Linked DNA regions of Homo sapiens: region 1 is linked to region 2. Evidence: promoter capture Hi-C in human tissues and cell types (Jung and others, 2019). All regions are on one chromosome and are shown on one strand. Each heading gives the region's core, a stretch centred on a gene start or on the middle of the fragment in contact. The rest is flanking DNA. Distances are from core to core; before and after follow the strand shown. Region 1 has its middle 65 kb from the start of ZNF621. Region 2 holds the start of ULK4 (unc-51 like kinase 4).

The links. The method cuts DNA at HindIII sites, captures the fragments that hold promoters and counts their contacts. A contact is called where the count stands out against the background at its distance.
Region 1: a fragment that was not itself captured here is called in contact with the fragment with the promoter of ULK4 in region 2 in 1 of the 25 tissues and cell types used here (dorsolateral prefrontal cortex).

Annotation. Positions count from the first base shown.
Region 1 is chr3:40,587,005-40,593,645 of GRCh38, forward strand. It overlaps the pseudogene RPL5P10. Among named protein-coding and RNA genes, the nearest start is that of ZNF621, 65 kb to the left of the region's middle. The HindIII fragment of the contact is 5,809 bases long and covers 1-4,485 here.
Region 2 is chr3:41,960,045-41,966,831 of GRCh38, forward strand. It overlaps ULK4 (unc-51 like kinase 4), which reads right to left and starts at 2,059. Exons shown (of 37, transcript NM_017886.4): 1 at 1,972-2,059. RefSeq lists enhancers at 2,029-2,188, 2,339-2,388. The HindIII fragment of the contact is 18,707 bases long and covers 1-6,787 here.

The DNA.
Region 1 (6,641 bases), core at 331-2,830, 1.4 Mb before region 2:
TAAAATCACCCAGCTGACCATCAATGTTTTCCACGTTGTGTTCATCTCTGGTCACCTCCACTTGGCCTTCATAAATCTTGACCATGCCAGACTTACTGAGAAGCCTGCAGGCCAGCAGCAAGCCAGTACAATATGCTGTAGCATAATGTGTCAGGCCAACCTTCACACCATATTTTGGCAGTTCATATGCTTAAGCTGTGCAGACTATCATATCCCCTCCTATACAGGCATAAGCAATCTGACAAATGATATCTCTGTTTGTCACCAAACTATCATCCTGTATTTGGGTGTGTTGTACTTATTTTTATACAGTATCACCAAGCGTTTCCAAGTATAATCTTCAGTTTTTACGCTTCTATCATTTTCTGAATTTCACTTGGTTTCTCTTAAAGCAGGCCTTGTTTTTGACAACTTTAGCAAACCCCTCCTGTAGAACAGAGACCCATGTTCACAGCTCAACATACCTACAGGCCTCAGAGGTCTGCTTTTCTAAATAAAGTTTTATTGGAACCCAGCCACACTCATTCGTTTACAAATCAGGTCTGTGGCTGCTTTTGCACTACAATGCAGAATTGAGTAGTTACCACAGAGACCATGTACCTGCATAGCCTAAGATATTTACTACCTGGCCCTTTACAGGAAAAGTTTGCCAACATCTGGTCTATGGCTTCAATTTTATTTTATCTTTCATAGGGTGAGGCAGACTTGTCCTCAGAGCCACAGGAATTTTATTTTGTGGAACAAGATCTTGGTGACTTGAATACAACTGAGGAGGCTCTTCCAGGATCCAAGCCATAGAGCAGGTGAAGGAATCTGTATTAGCTTGGGCTGCCTTATAAAATTCATCGACTGGATGGCTTAAACAACTGACATTTATTTCTCACAACTATGGAGGCCAAAAGCCCATGATCAAGGTACTGGCAAGGTAGGTTTCATCCTGTGGCCTTTTCTCTTGGCTTGTAGTGGACACCATCTTGCTGTGTCCTTCCTCACATGGCCTCTTCTTTGTGCATGCAGAGAGAGAGAGAGAGAGAGAGACAGAGAGAAAGAGAGAGAGAGAGAGAACACAAGCCAGCATGTGAGCTGTTGGTGTCTTTCCTTATAAGAACACTAATCCTATTGGATCGGGGTCCCTTCCTTGTGACCCCACCTTGCCTTAATTACTTCCTTATGGGCTCTGTCTCCAAATATAATCACATTGAGGGATTAGGACTTTAACATATGAATTTTGGGGGAACACAATTTAACTCATAATAGAACTCTAATCTTTTTCTCAGGAGACTTTCTAATTATGCTGACCTGACAGATGGAAAACTATAGCAATGGAGGTCAGAGGTTTGCTCTGTGTCTTCCTGAGAGGAAGACTTATGAGAAAGTGATGCATTGAGGAAGCGCTCCTTGGGAGATTGGTAAGGGAGTCGAGGCAGGGCGGGGGGAGAGATAGAGTGAAGTCCTGCAGGGGTAGCTTCCTCCTGATCCTTCAGGGGAGCTCTGAAGTGTGAGTTACATCTTGGAATCTGACGCACCTGCATCTGTCAATCACTGGCCTGGGGCTGCCTTGCGGGGATGTTGGCTCCCAGGCATTTCCAATCTCTGCAGGTGTGGGCAAACTAGCTCTAGCCACCTGAGGGCAGTCCTCTAACAGGAGTTGCAGGTGTAGGCAGCAGAAACAAGATCCCACAGAGGCCAGGAGAGCAACACACAGCAACTGTAAAAGGACTTAGTGGGTGTCTGGGTAGAGTGTTGACTGTGTTGCCACATCCCACAAAGAAAAGTCAATAATAAAGGGTATATCGAAGACTGTCTAGGCTTATTCCGATAAAACAAAATTTGGCACATCTGTGGGAAGGTTCTGTGTTTGAAAGTTGTCTGAAGAAGGGACTAGACCTTTTGTATTCTTGCATTCCCAAACCTGGCACACAGTAGGTGCTCAGTTAGGCTTGAAGACTTCTGGTAGAGTGGGTGACTGGATGCCTGCAGGGGGCTGGAGTGATGGATAGCACGCTGGGGTCAGGTTTTAGAGAGCTAGCCTCTGTCCTGGGCTTCTCCTCACAGCTTGGGAATCCACTCTGGTCCTGACAGTCTAGGAATGGGGGAAGTTTGGCCATTTGACTCCAGCAAAGGACTTTTCTGTGTTTGGATCTCAAAGACTTTCCTCTCAACACAGGGGAGTAGCCTTTCGGTGGAGGACAGTGGAGTGGGTGGGAACAGATGGTTTGCATGTAGCACAGGTGGAATTTTATTTCTACCTTGATTTTATACACATCTTAGAACAAATTGAATGGTGGTGGCTGATTTCATGCATTTTTATGAGTTTTGTCACATCGCCTAAACTTTTTTTTTCCTTTGGGAGAATTGACCTGAAAAATTATTAGAAATAATGAGAGTTCAGTAAGGTAGCAAGTTACAAAATAAACGTACAAAAATCAATAGCTTTCCTATTTCCAACAGTAGCCACTTAGAAAAAAATAATGGAAAAGAAAGATCTCATTCACAATAGAAACAAAAGATATTTATCACCTTGCAGCAAACTTGTAGGAGACGACACATGTACTGCACTTCCTCCCTCTGTCCCAGGCATCCTTCTCTGGTGGGAGGGAGAGAATTGTTATGGCTACAGCTTGGATTCCTGGCCCCTGCCCCTCAGACCTTTGCCATAGGAGGATTGGGGGCCAGTGTTTCCCTGGCTCCCTTGGCAGGAGGTTTCTGCCTCTTCTGAGGCATATTGAAGATATGAGCTCTGGGCAGCTACCAAGAGCCCTCTGAGCATGCTGGTAGCCCACTGTGGTTACTGCAGGTGGTTACCCTAGCTTAGAGCAGTGACTGGGTCACAGGACATTAAATGGAGCAGGAAGCTATAAAGGTGATGCTGGTTTCCTGGAGTACCCACTGACTCTGGAAAGCTTCAGGGTTGGCTGCTTCTACCAGTCTAGGGGGTCTCAATGATGATCAAGCTGGCTGTGATCAGTGTGGGTGCAGGGCACAAAAGATATTGGTGGAGGTTTTTCCTGTACCACGATGGTGTCATATCTGGGATGGGAGTAGATTTAGGAAGCAATCCATGGATATTTTATCCCAGAAACATTCTAGGGTTAAATAGGACGACCTCTCATTGAGTGGAAGTTTTACATATATTAATATTAATCAGGATGCTTTTCCTTTGAAAATGGCAGAAAGCCTAGTTTAGTCATCCAAGTCCTACAAAAAAAACCCCAAACAATACAAAGCAAACATATCCCATCCATTCCTCCTTGATGCTGTGCACACCAGTTTGGCTGCTGACTGCCAGCCCCTGCAACTCTGCCTGAGGAGTCTGCTTTGTCCGTTCTCACAGTGGGTCCAAAAATGAAGCCCTGGGAAGAGCCTGACATATGGATAGGTAGGAGAGGGAGATGAATACCCCAGCTCCTTTGCCTCTTGGATGGCGTGGCTCTGAGATGTGTCCTCCACAAGGTCTCCCAGAGTTCCCGAGAGGGACTGAGCCTAAGTTGCCTTTTACTAATTAATTAATATTTATTTATTTATTTATTTATTTATTTAGAGACAGAGTCTTGATCTGTCACCCAGGCTGGAGCACAATGGTGCTATCTCAGCTCACTGCAACCTCCACCTGCTGAGTTCAAGCAATTCCCCTGCCTCGGCCTCCCGAGTAGCTGGGATTACAGGTGCCCGCCACCACCCCCAGTTAATCTTTGTATTTTTAGAAGAGATGGGGTTTTACCATGTTGGCCAGGCTGGTCTCGAACTCCTGGCCTCAAGTAATCGTCTGCCTCAGCCTCCCAAAGTGCTGGGATTACAGGCGTGAGCCACTGCGCCTGGCCCCAAGTTGCTCTTTAGGAGTTACTTGCTCAATGATGCACCCTTTACTGGCTGCCTTCTCTTGCCCTCACTTTCTAATTACCTTACTGGTGTTTTCTAATATTACTTCTCAAATAAACTCTTTGCCTATCAATCCTTATTTCAGGATCTTTCTTTGTGGTGGAGCAGGGGCTCAACTGAGAGAGAGAGAGGGAGAAAGAGAGAGGGAGAGAGGGAGAGAGAGAGCGAGAGAGCGAGAGAGCGAGCATGAGAGCAAAAGCAAAAGTACATATAATTGGAGTCCAGGCATAGCTTTGGCTTCAGGTAGGACTGGACCCAGAGGACTCAAGCAATATCTTTAGGATGATCAGGTCTTCCCATCACTTGATTGTGCTTTCTTCTCAGGTGGACTCTGTCAACCCAGTGGATCTCAGCAGTTCCAGGCTTAAAGTCTTCAAACTAAACTACCCTAGCAGAAAGAGGAGAACTTGTTTTTGTCCTAGGATATCTTAAAATTGCAAACCACTGGACTGACTTGCACGCCTCTAAGCCCATCATCGAGGCCAGGTGGATGGAATACTTTGTGTACTAGTAGTCAGGTTTTTCTAGAGGGACAAAACTATTTTATATATATATATGAGTTTATTAAGTACTAACTCACACGATCACGAGGTCCCACAATAGGCCATGTGCAAGCTGAAGAGCAAGGAGAGCCAGGTCGAGTCCCAGAACTGAAGAACTTGGAGTCTGATGTTCAAGGGCAGGAAGCATCCAGCAAGGGAAAAAGATGTAGGCTGGGAGGCTAGCCCAGTCTTGCCTTTTCACGTTTTTCTGCCTGCTTTATATTCTAGCTGTGCTGGCAGCTGATTAGATGGTGCCCACCCAGATTAAGGGTGGGTCTGCCTTTCCCAGCCCACTGACTCGAATGTTAATCTCCTTTGGCAACACCTGCACAGATACACCCAGGATCAATACTTTACATACTTCAGTCCGATCAAGTTGACACTCAGTATTAACCATCACACTCTGATTGGCCAGTCCTGATTCATGTGACTATGGATCCCTTTTATGTCCTCCTCTGTACACTCCCATTCCACTTTTCCCACACACTCTAGTGGTATACAATGGAGAGAAATCAGAAGCAGGGATGAAGGTCCTGTGTTTTGGAAGTAGATAAAGACAGACACACGTCTGCATGCATGTGCTGATGTCTAATTGTGTAGAATCTGATCACTTGCTAACTATCAAACAATATTGGTGAAATATTCAAAGAATCTGTGTGTAAGCTAGACCACTCTTTTTTTTCAATGTTATGAGAGAAATAGAAAACAAATATCCCAGCTGAAGTCCTGCATCTTACTTCTTTTCATATGAGTGATTTCTGTAGAAGAGACCAATCTTTGGCAAGAAAAACAGAAGGTGAGAGAAAAACTAGTATCTAGAGAGTTCCTAGCTGTATGTCAGTCATTGTCTTAGCACTGTATGGTTGTGACTTCATTTGACATGAAATCTATAGTGCTCATTTTATAGGTGGCCACACTGAAGCTGGATGATGTTAAGTCAGGTGCTGAAGAAGGCTCAGAGCCTGGACTGTTTGACCCCTCAGCCATGGTATTTTCACTATTCGAGATGTCTTCTCTCAGAGAACGGTACTGGGAGAGGGAAGTCTGCTCTGCTCATTCTGTGAATGAAATAAACCCTCTTCCCGCTAGTCTAAGTACTATGATGTTAGAAAGGAGGCATTTTAAACAAATGGAGCTTCCAGTCATACATGGTGTAAGAATTAGAAGCACTCCATCAGCACTTGTGAAATCACAAAGAGCTTAATTAAAAAAAAAGTAATTTGCTCATATCCCGGCTGGAGAAGCCTGTCTATGTAGTCCACAAAGCAAACAAAAGAAAAAAAATACAGATTACCTCCCTGAAGGCAGGACTTTGCTTGAAAGTGTTATGATTTTGTCCCCTGAGCCTAGTACAGTGCCTGACACATTATGAGTGCTCAGTATATATTTGGTGAGTGAATAAAAAAATTGCATACACATTAATAGTTTTTTTAAAACAATACTACTTTCTAAATATCTTTCCATGACAATGAATAAATCATTTCATGATGGTTGGAATGGTTAAATTTATTTAACATTTTATTGGATTAACTATTTTTGCTTGTTTGACATATTTAACTATTAAATTCCCTCTTTTTGGATTGGTAGGCAGTTCATATTTTTGAGGATAGTAAACAATGCTATGAATGAACATCGTTACACTTAAGCTTTTACAAATTTTTCAAATAATTTATCTAGGGTATATACAGAAAAGAACTGCTTAGTTAAATGGCATGCATGTTTTAAGCCTTGTTTTGGAAATACACAGGCAAATACATATCCATGTATAATAAGGAAAAATGTGATTTATTTTGAAAATTAAATTATCACAGTCTTCAGCTAAACCTAACAGTCATATCTTAGCACATTTAGCAGTCTAAAGTGAATTAGTTAATTTTTATGGCTTATTGTTTGAGGTAAGTGGGCCACTAGATAAGATTTGAAAACTGTTGCTTGCTTTTTATTTCCACCATACTGTTCTGTGAGTCTTTGGGAAATCTCTGGAGAGTCTGAGTATCTTGTCTTTGGGTCTGCAATGCCATGTCTCATGTAGCTTATATCCTGTTTTGCCTCCTCTCCACCCCCAGAACCTCATTAGTATCTCTCACACAGAGGATTCAGATTCCAAAAATATTTGTGGAATTAAGTGTTGGCAAGAGAGTGAGAAACCCAGACTTGCGCACACTGCTGGTGGGAGTATTTAATTGGTACAGCCACTTTGAAGGCAATTTGGCAGTGTCT
Region 2 (6,787 bases), core at 809-3,308:
TTTTTTTTTTTTTTAAAGGAGGCTAGGTCTTGAACCCCTGGGCTCAAGCAATCCTCCTGCCTCAGCCTCCCAAAATTCTGGAATTACAGGTGCAAGCCACCATCCAGCCCATCTTGAAATTTTGAATTTGATTTAGGCCAAATTCATTTCCTTAATCTTTAGTCACATCTGACCATCAAGTCACATGTGGACAATTTCAGTCTGAAATTAACAAAACACATTAGTTATAAATCTGCTTAGATAGGGTGGTTTGTTACTTTCAAGCATTTCTCCTCTCTAAGGCTGTTTCCTTAGAGTAAAATAAGAATTGGATCAAATGATTTTCTTTTTTTTTTTTGGACAGGGTCTCACTCAGTGGCCCAGGCTGGTGTGCAGGGGCAAGATCTAGGCTCACTGCAACCTCCACCTCCAGGGTTCAAACGATTCTCGTGCCTCAGCCTCCAGAGTAGCCACCTCAGCCTCTGGCACACCACCACACCCAGTTAATTTTTTGTGTTTTTGGTAGATATGGAGTTTCACTATGTTGCCCAGGCTGGTCTAGAACTCCTGGCCTCAAGTGATCCGCCTGCCTCGGCCTTCCAAAGTGCTAGGATTACAGGTGTGAGCCACCGCGCCTGGCACTAAGTTATCTTTCAATAACTTATTAATAGTTGAAATTCCATGACTTTAAGATTCTTTGACTCAGTCCAAACACGTTCCCCATTACAGACTTCCTAATATTCATTTTTAAAGCTGTAACCTCTTAATTATAAAATAAAACACAAGTACAGAAAACTCCACAGAATACATAGTTTAATGAATTACTAAAGAGGGACACCCTTCTAATCACCACCCAAAGTCAGGAAATAGGACTTTGCCAGCCACACAAGCAGCCCCTCTGTGAGCCTGTCTCAATCACCACCCCTCCTGATCCCCAAAAGTTAACCACCCCCTGACTTTCGTAGTCATCACTTCCTTAGGTTTCTTCATGGTTTTCTCACTCGAGTGTGCTTTCCCAGAAACCACAGTTTAGTCTCTTAACCTATAGTGCTCCTAAGGAAGTCTCTCTTAATTCACAAGTTCACCTAAGAAGCATCTAAGAAGCCAGAAGGCAGAGCAAATCACATACAGGTGCAAATGAGGCATTTAAGAGTCGGGGGCAGGTCCTACATTCAAGGAACGCTGAGAGCGAACAGGTGATAAGAGCGCACAGGTGCCCACTTTCAGCACAATCATGACTCCCGCACCAGAAGCATGAGCATCACCTGGGACTTAATACAAAAGAAAAAGTTATCGGCCCTGCCCCAAATTTACGGAATCATACACTACGGCGGTAGGGCCTGGCCTTCTGTGTTACTACACGCCCTGGGGTGACTGGGATGCGCTCAAGTCTGCGAAATGCCAGCCAAATCAACCCCGAGATGTAACCGATGGCGCGCGCCACACTAAGCACTCCATAGGTGCTCCTCCTCGCCGCACTTCACAGACTCAATTATCACAGACTCAGGGGCGCTACGTAGTCACTCACCCCCCCCCCCCCCCCCCCCGCTCCCCAGGCAACTCGCGGCGGGCGAATCGGCGGCTTTCGCGGCCTCGCTACGTCCGTAGGCATCAGTCCGCGAGACCGGCTGGGAGCCTAGGAAGCGCTGCAGGGCGGTGAAGACGCGGTCCGCTCTGGGAAGTTAAGAGATGGCGTCCATAAAGCACATCTCCCAAGCCGAAACACACAAGCACTCTCTCTCCCCGCTGCACCCAGGTCCTAGAAGAGGCGTCCCGTGTGCCCTTAACTAACGCCCGGATAAAAACGGGCGGCTTTTTTAACACGAGCGCAAAGCAGGGGAGCGCAGGGGGTACGGGGTCCACTGGCAGAAGGAGAGAGGGCGGCCAGGCGCCACCACCCACCCGCCCCGGCAGGCCTGCGCGCTCTTCCGCGACCGCTTAGGCAGACACGAACTCAGACTCGTAGCTACTAAAACCGCCACTGCCACGCACCTGGTAGCTAAGTCAAGAAAAGAGTCCAGTCCACTTGGCTGCTCCCGCGGTTGCGCGCATCTCGGCCTCTGCCTCAGGACAGGTCCACAGGCCCAAGAATGGGGGAGAAAGCAGTGAAGCAAAGCGGAACGCGCGGAAGAAGCCGACCAGCCTTACGGAGGCGACGCCCCTCCAGGTTTGGATTCGTCCATACGGTTTCCACGGCAGCACACAGAACGCCGGAAGAAGCTCAGGAAGCCGACTGGCTGTGCAGTTTCCGTTCCTGTTGGCTGGGGCCCGGAAGTGAGAGACCACGAGGGCCCCTCCCTCCACCCAAAGGGCATCACGCCCTGCCTTTGGACGAGCCCACAGGCCAGAGACTGGGGCGGGAAGTGCTGGAGTAACAGTCATAGTGGTCGGCCCACCATCCCTCTATGTTTGGATTTGCTCATTCCATCTCCATGGCAGCACGCAGAACGCTGGAAAAACGCAAAGCGCTGATTGGTTAAGAGTCTCAGTTCCTATTGGCCAGAGTCCGAAGTGGGAGCCCGTGAGGGACTACTCTTCAATCTTAAGTGGGTGCTGAGGCTAGAGTGTGGAGAACTGAGACCTCGTCATTTCTTCTCTTCCCGTTCCCACTGTCCTTCTGTTTCCTTCCATTCTTTTCTTTCTGGCTTCTTCTGGGAGCTCAGGTAGACATGGTGGCATAGTCTGGATAACCAACGCCTCAGAAGCAGGGGCCCCGGGGTCCTCACCATTTAGAAAAGAGAAGGCTGTGAATTACCTTCCTTTTTGGAGATGGAGGAAACAGATGAGACACTCTGATCTCAAGTTGATTGTGTAAACTAAAAATAAAAGTTCCAAGCCCCCCTACCAACTGAGTGGATCCCTCCTCTGGGCCAAAGGCACGCCAAAGTTAACCTGAAGAACTAGCTCAGGCAATGATGGGAAGATGGGGTGGGACAGGCCTCATTATACCCTCCTCCCGTTGGAATACAGGCACAGCTGACCAGCGTTAACATTAAACAGAGACCTTAAGACTGACAAAACAGACTTTTTTGCAGCAATAAGATACCAACATGGCAGCAGGCCCCAAAAGACATTGAAGTATTTTATCCTGATATATATATACACACACATAGACAAACACACACACACATATACTCTTATGTATACATATATACTCATATACGTATATATATATATATTTTTTTTGAGACAGTCTCGCTGCATCACACAGACTAGAGGGCAGTGGCGCAATCTCGGCTCACTGCAACCTCCACCTCCTGGGTTCAAGTGATTCTCCTGCCTCAGCCTCCCAAGTAGCTGGGATTACAGGCGTGTGCCACCACACCAGCTAATTTTTGTATTTTTAGTAGAGACAGGGTTTCACTGTGTTGGCCAAGCTCATCTTGAACTCCTGACCTCAGGTGATCCACCCGCCTTGGCCTCCCAAAGTGCTGGGATTACAGGTGTGAGCCACCGTGCCTGGCCAAATATATTTATTTGACATATTTTGAAATGGCCTTGCAGAGCTATCTCTTCTGGGGGGAATCTACATTCTGTAAAGAATCCCCTTGTCTTTCCAGGTCTTTTCCCTGATGCTGGAGAGAATTAACTGAGAACCTGACACCTGTTTTAAGTCTGATAAGAAACATTTACAATCTATTCTCTCTGAAACCTGCTACATAGAGGCTTCATCTGCAGAACAAGAACCCTGGTCTCTGCAACCTCTTATCTCAACCCAGACACTGCCTTCTATTGGCTCCAGGTCTTTATATAATAACTCTTTTAACCAATTGCCAATTGTAGGGTATATGGATGTGCTTTGGTCAAGGAATAGGCCAAGGTGGACATCCGGGCCAGAGTGGCTCAGCGAGTTTAGGACACAGGCGCATATTCCACTTGTTATGTAACCCGTTTATGTAAGTTCATACTTGGATCTGAGCCACTATTGTCTGTAGAAGGTATAACTGCCCTGCTGACACTGTGCCCAGGTCTGAGTTCAGCACGACACGACCCGGTTCGTGCACTGGTGCCCAGAGTAATGCTACTAACCCCTCTAAGGGAGAGCGGTTGCCCTTAAGGTGGGCAGAGGGGAGCCGAGCCAGGAACCAGCTTGTGCCCAGAGGGAGAGTTAAGCTGCTGACCCTGACAGAGCTGGCTTTGCAGGCCAGGGTGTGCAGCTGCAGGCATGGGGGCAACAGGAGCCACAGAGCCAGAACAGACAGCCGAGATAAAGGTGGACAGTGTGAGAGAGCTAGTGTGATTAAGCTGCTGATGACACAGCCGCTGAATAAAACTACATTTCACTTGCCTACACGCCCCCAACCCTCCTTGTGTTCTTTCAGTTATTCGCCCATCCACCCACTCCCCTTGGACCTCAGCTGGGGGCTGGAACCTGACAATTGGCGTAGTCGTGGCATAACACCAATCACCTATTAAATCCACCCTATGATGTAGAAGCTCTTTCCAGCTTCGAGTTGTCCCACCTTTCCTGACCCAACCAATACCTTATGTCATGTATTGATTGATGTCTTATTTCTCCGTAAAACATGTAAAACCGAGCTGCAGCTCAGTCACCTTAGCTGTCAGGCCTCTGAGCCTAAGCTAAGCCATCATATCCCCTGTGACCTGCACGTATACATCCAGATGGCATGAAGCAACTGAAGATCCACAAAAGATGTGAAAATAGCCTTAACTGATGACATTCCACCATTGTGATTTGTTTCTGCCCCACCCTACCTGATCAATTTACTTTGTAATCTCCCCCACCCTTAAGAAGGTTCTTTGTAATTCTCCCCACCCTTGAAAATGTACTTTGTGAGATCCATCCTCTGCCCGCAAAACATTGTTCCTGACTCCACCGCCTATCCCAAAACCTATAAGAACTGACGATAATCCCACCACCCGCTGCTGACTCTCTTTTCAAACTCAGCCCACCTGCACCCAGGTGAAATAAACAGCCTTGTTGCTCACACGAAGCCTGTTTGGTGGTCTCTTCACACGGACACGTGAGACATTAGCCATATGTTCCTAGGGCCTCTTGAGACTGTGCCTCGAGCCATGGTCACTCAGATTTGGCTCAGAATAAATCTCTTTAAATATTTTACAGAGTTTAACTCTTTTTGTCAACCATCACTTACGGCTTTCAAAGCTCCACACTTGCAAGTTTCAACCACCAGATACACTGGAGCCTGTACTCCAGCCCGAGCAACAGCGCAAAATCCTGTCTGTAAAAAGGAAATTTAAAAAGAAATTTTATTTTTTGCTAACTTTACATGCATTGTTATTATTTAATGCCTCTTTGTATGAAGTAAAAAATAAATTTCTTTTCTGCAGCATTTAATGCAATGCTTTGCCTAAAGAAGGAAGTTTCTATGTGCTTGAATGAGAGATTCTTTTTTTTTGGAGACAGAGTTTAGCTCTTGTTGCGCAGGCTAGAGTGCTAACCTAGCTACACTCTAGAGACAGGGGTTTCTCCATGTTAGTCAGGCTGGTCTTGAACTCCCGACCTCAGGTGATCTGCCCGCCTCGGCCTCCCAAAGTGCTGAGATTACAGGTGTGAGCCACCGCGCCCGGCTGACAGATTCTTTATGATCATCCAGAGGTGAGAAAATGAACCAGCTCCCCTCTTCAGCATCCTTCAATGCAAAAGTGGTTTGCAAACTTTACCATCAGAATCACCTGGAGCTCTTGTTAAAACATAGATTTCTGGCTCCACCTACAAAACTTCTGATTCTGTATCTCAATGGGGCCTAAAATTTTGCATTTCTATCAACTTACCAGGTGATGTCAATGTTGCAAGTTGAGCACCACACTTTTCAAACAACCATCTAGAAAAACTGTTCTGATCTCAGGTAAATCACATCTCCTTTTACTTCTGACCCTTCCTGCCTTCTCAAGAGTCTCAGCATCCATTATTGTCAGTTCTGTGTATTTAACAGGTTTGGTAGGGAAAACGTCTCCTCCTGGACTACTGTCAAATTAATGAAGATTAAAACTTTGAAATATTTTGTTTATTCTGAGTTTTTATAAATAACCTAAAAGTTCATGTCAGAAGCAATATCAGATCCTGGGTCTTCTTAGCCTAAGTTCCTTGGATGCTTCTGTCAGAGAAATGCGAACCAGAGTGACTCCATCTCGAATAGGGGCTGGGTAAAATAAGGCTGAGACCTTCTGGGCTGCATTCCCAGGTGGATAGACATTCTTAATCACGGGATGAGAGAGGAGGTCGGCACAAGCTAGAGGTCAAAAGACCTTGCTGATAAAACAGGTTGCAGTAAAGAAGCCAGCCAAAACCCACCAAAACCAAGATGGTGACAAAAGTGGCCTCTGGTCATCCTCACTGCCCATTATATGCTAATTAAATGCATTAGCATGATAAGAGACACTCCCACCAGTGCCATGACAATTTACAAATGCCATGGCAACATCAGGAAGTTACCCTATATGGTCTAGAAGCGGGAGGTACCCTCAGTTCTGGGAATTGCCCACCCCTTTTGCGGAAAACTTAGGAATAATCCACCCCTTGTATAGCATATGTCAAGAAATAGGCTAGGCATGGTGGCTGACGCCTGTAATCCCAGGACTTTGAGAGGCCAAGGCGGGCAGATCACTTGAGATCAGGAGTTTAAGACCAGAATGGCCAAAATGGTGAAACTCCGTCTCGACTAAAAATACAAAAATTAGCCGGGCACGGTGGCATGCACCTGTAATCCCAGCTACTTGGGAAGGTGAGGTGGGAGAACTGCTTGAACCCGGACTGGGTGGGGGGCTGAGGTTGCAGTGAGCCAAGATGGCACCACAGCACTCCAGCCTGGATAACAGAGTGATA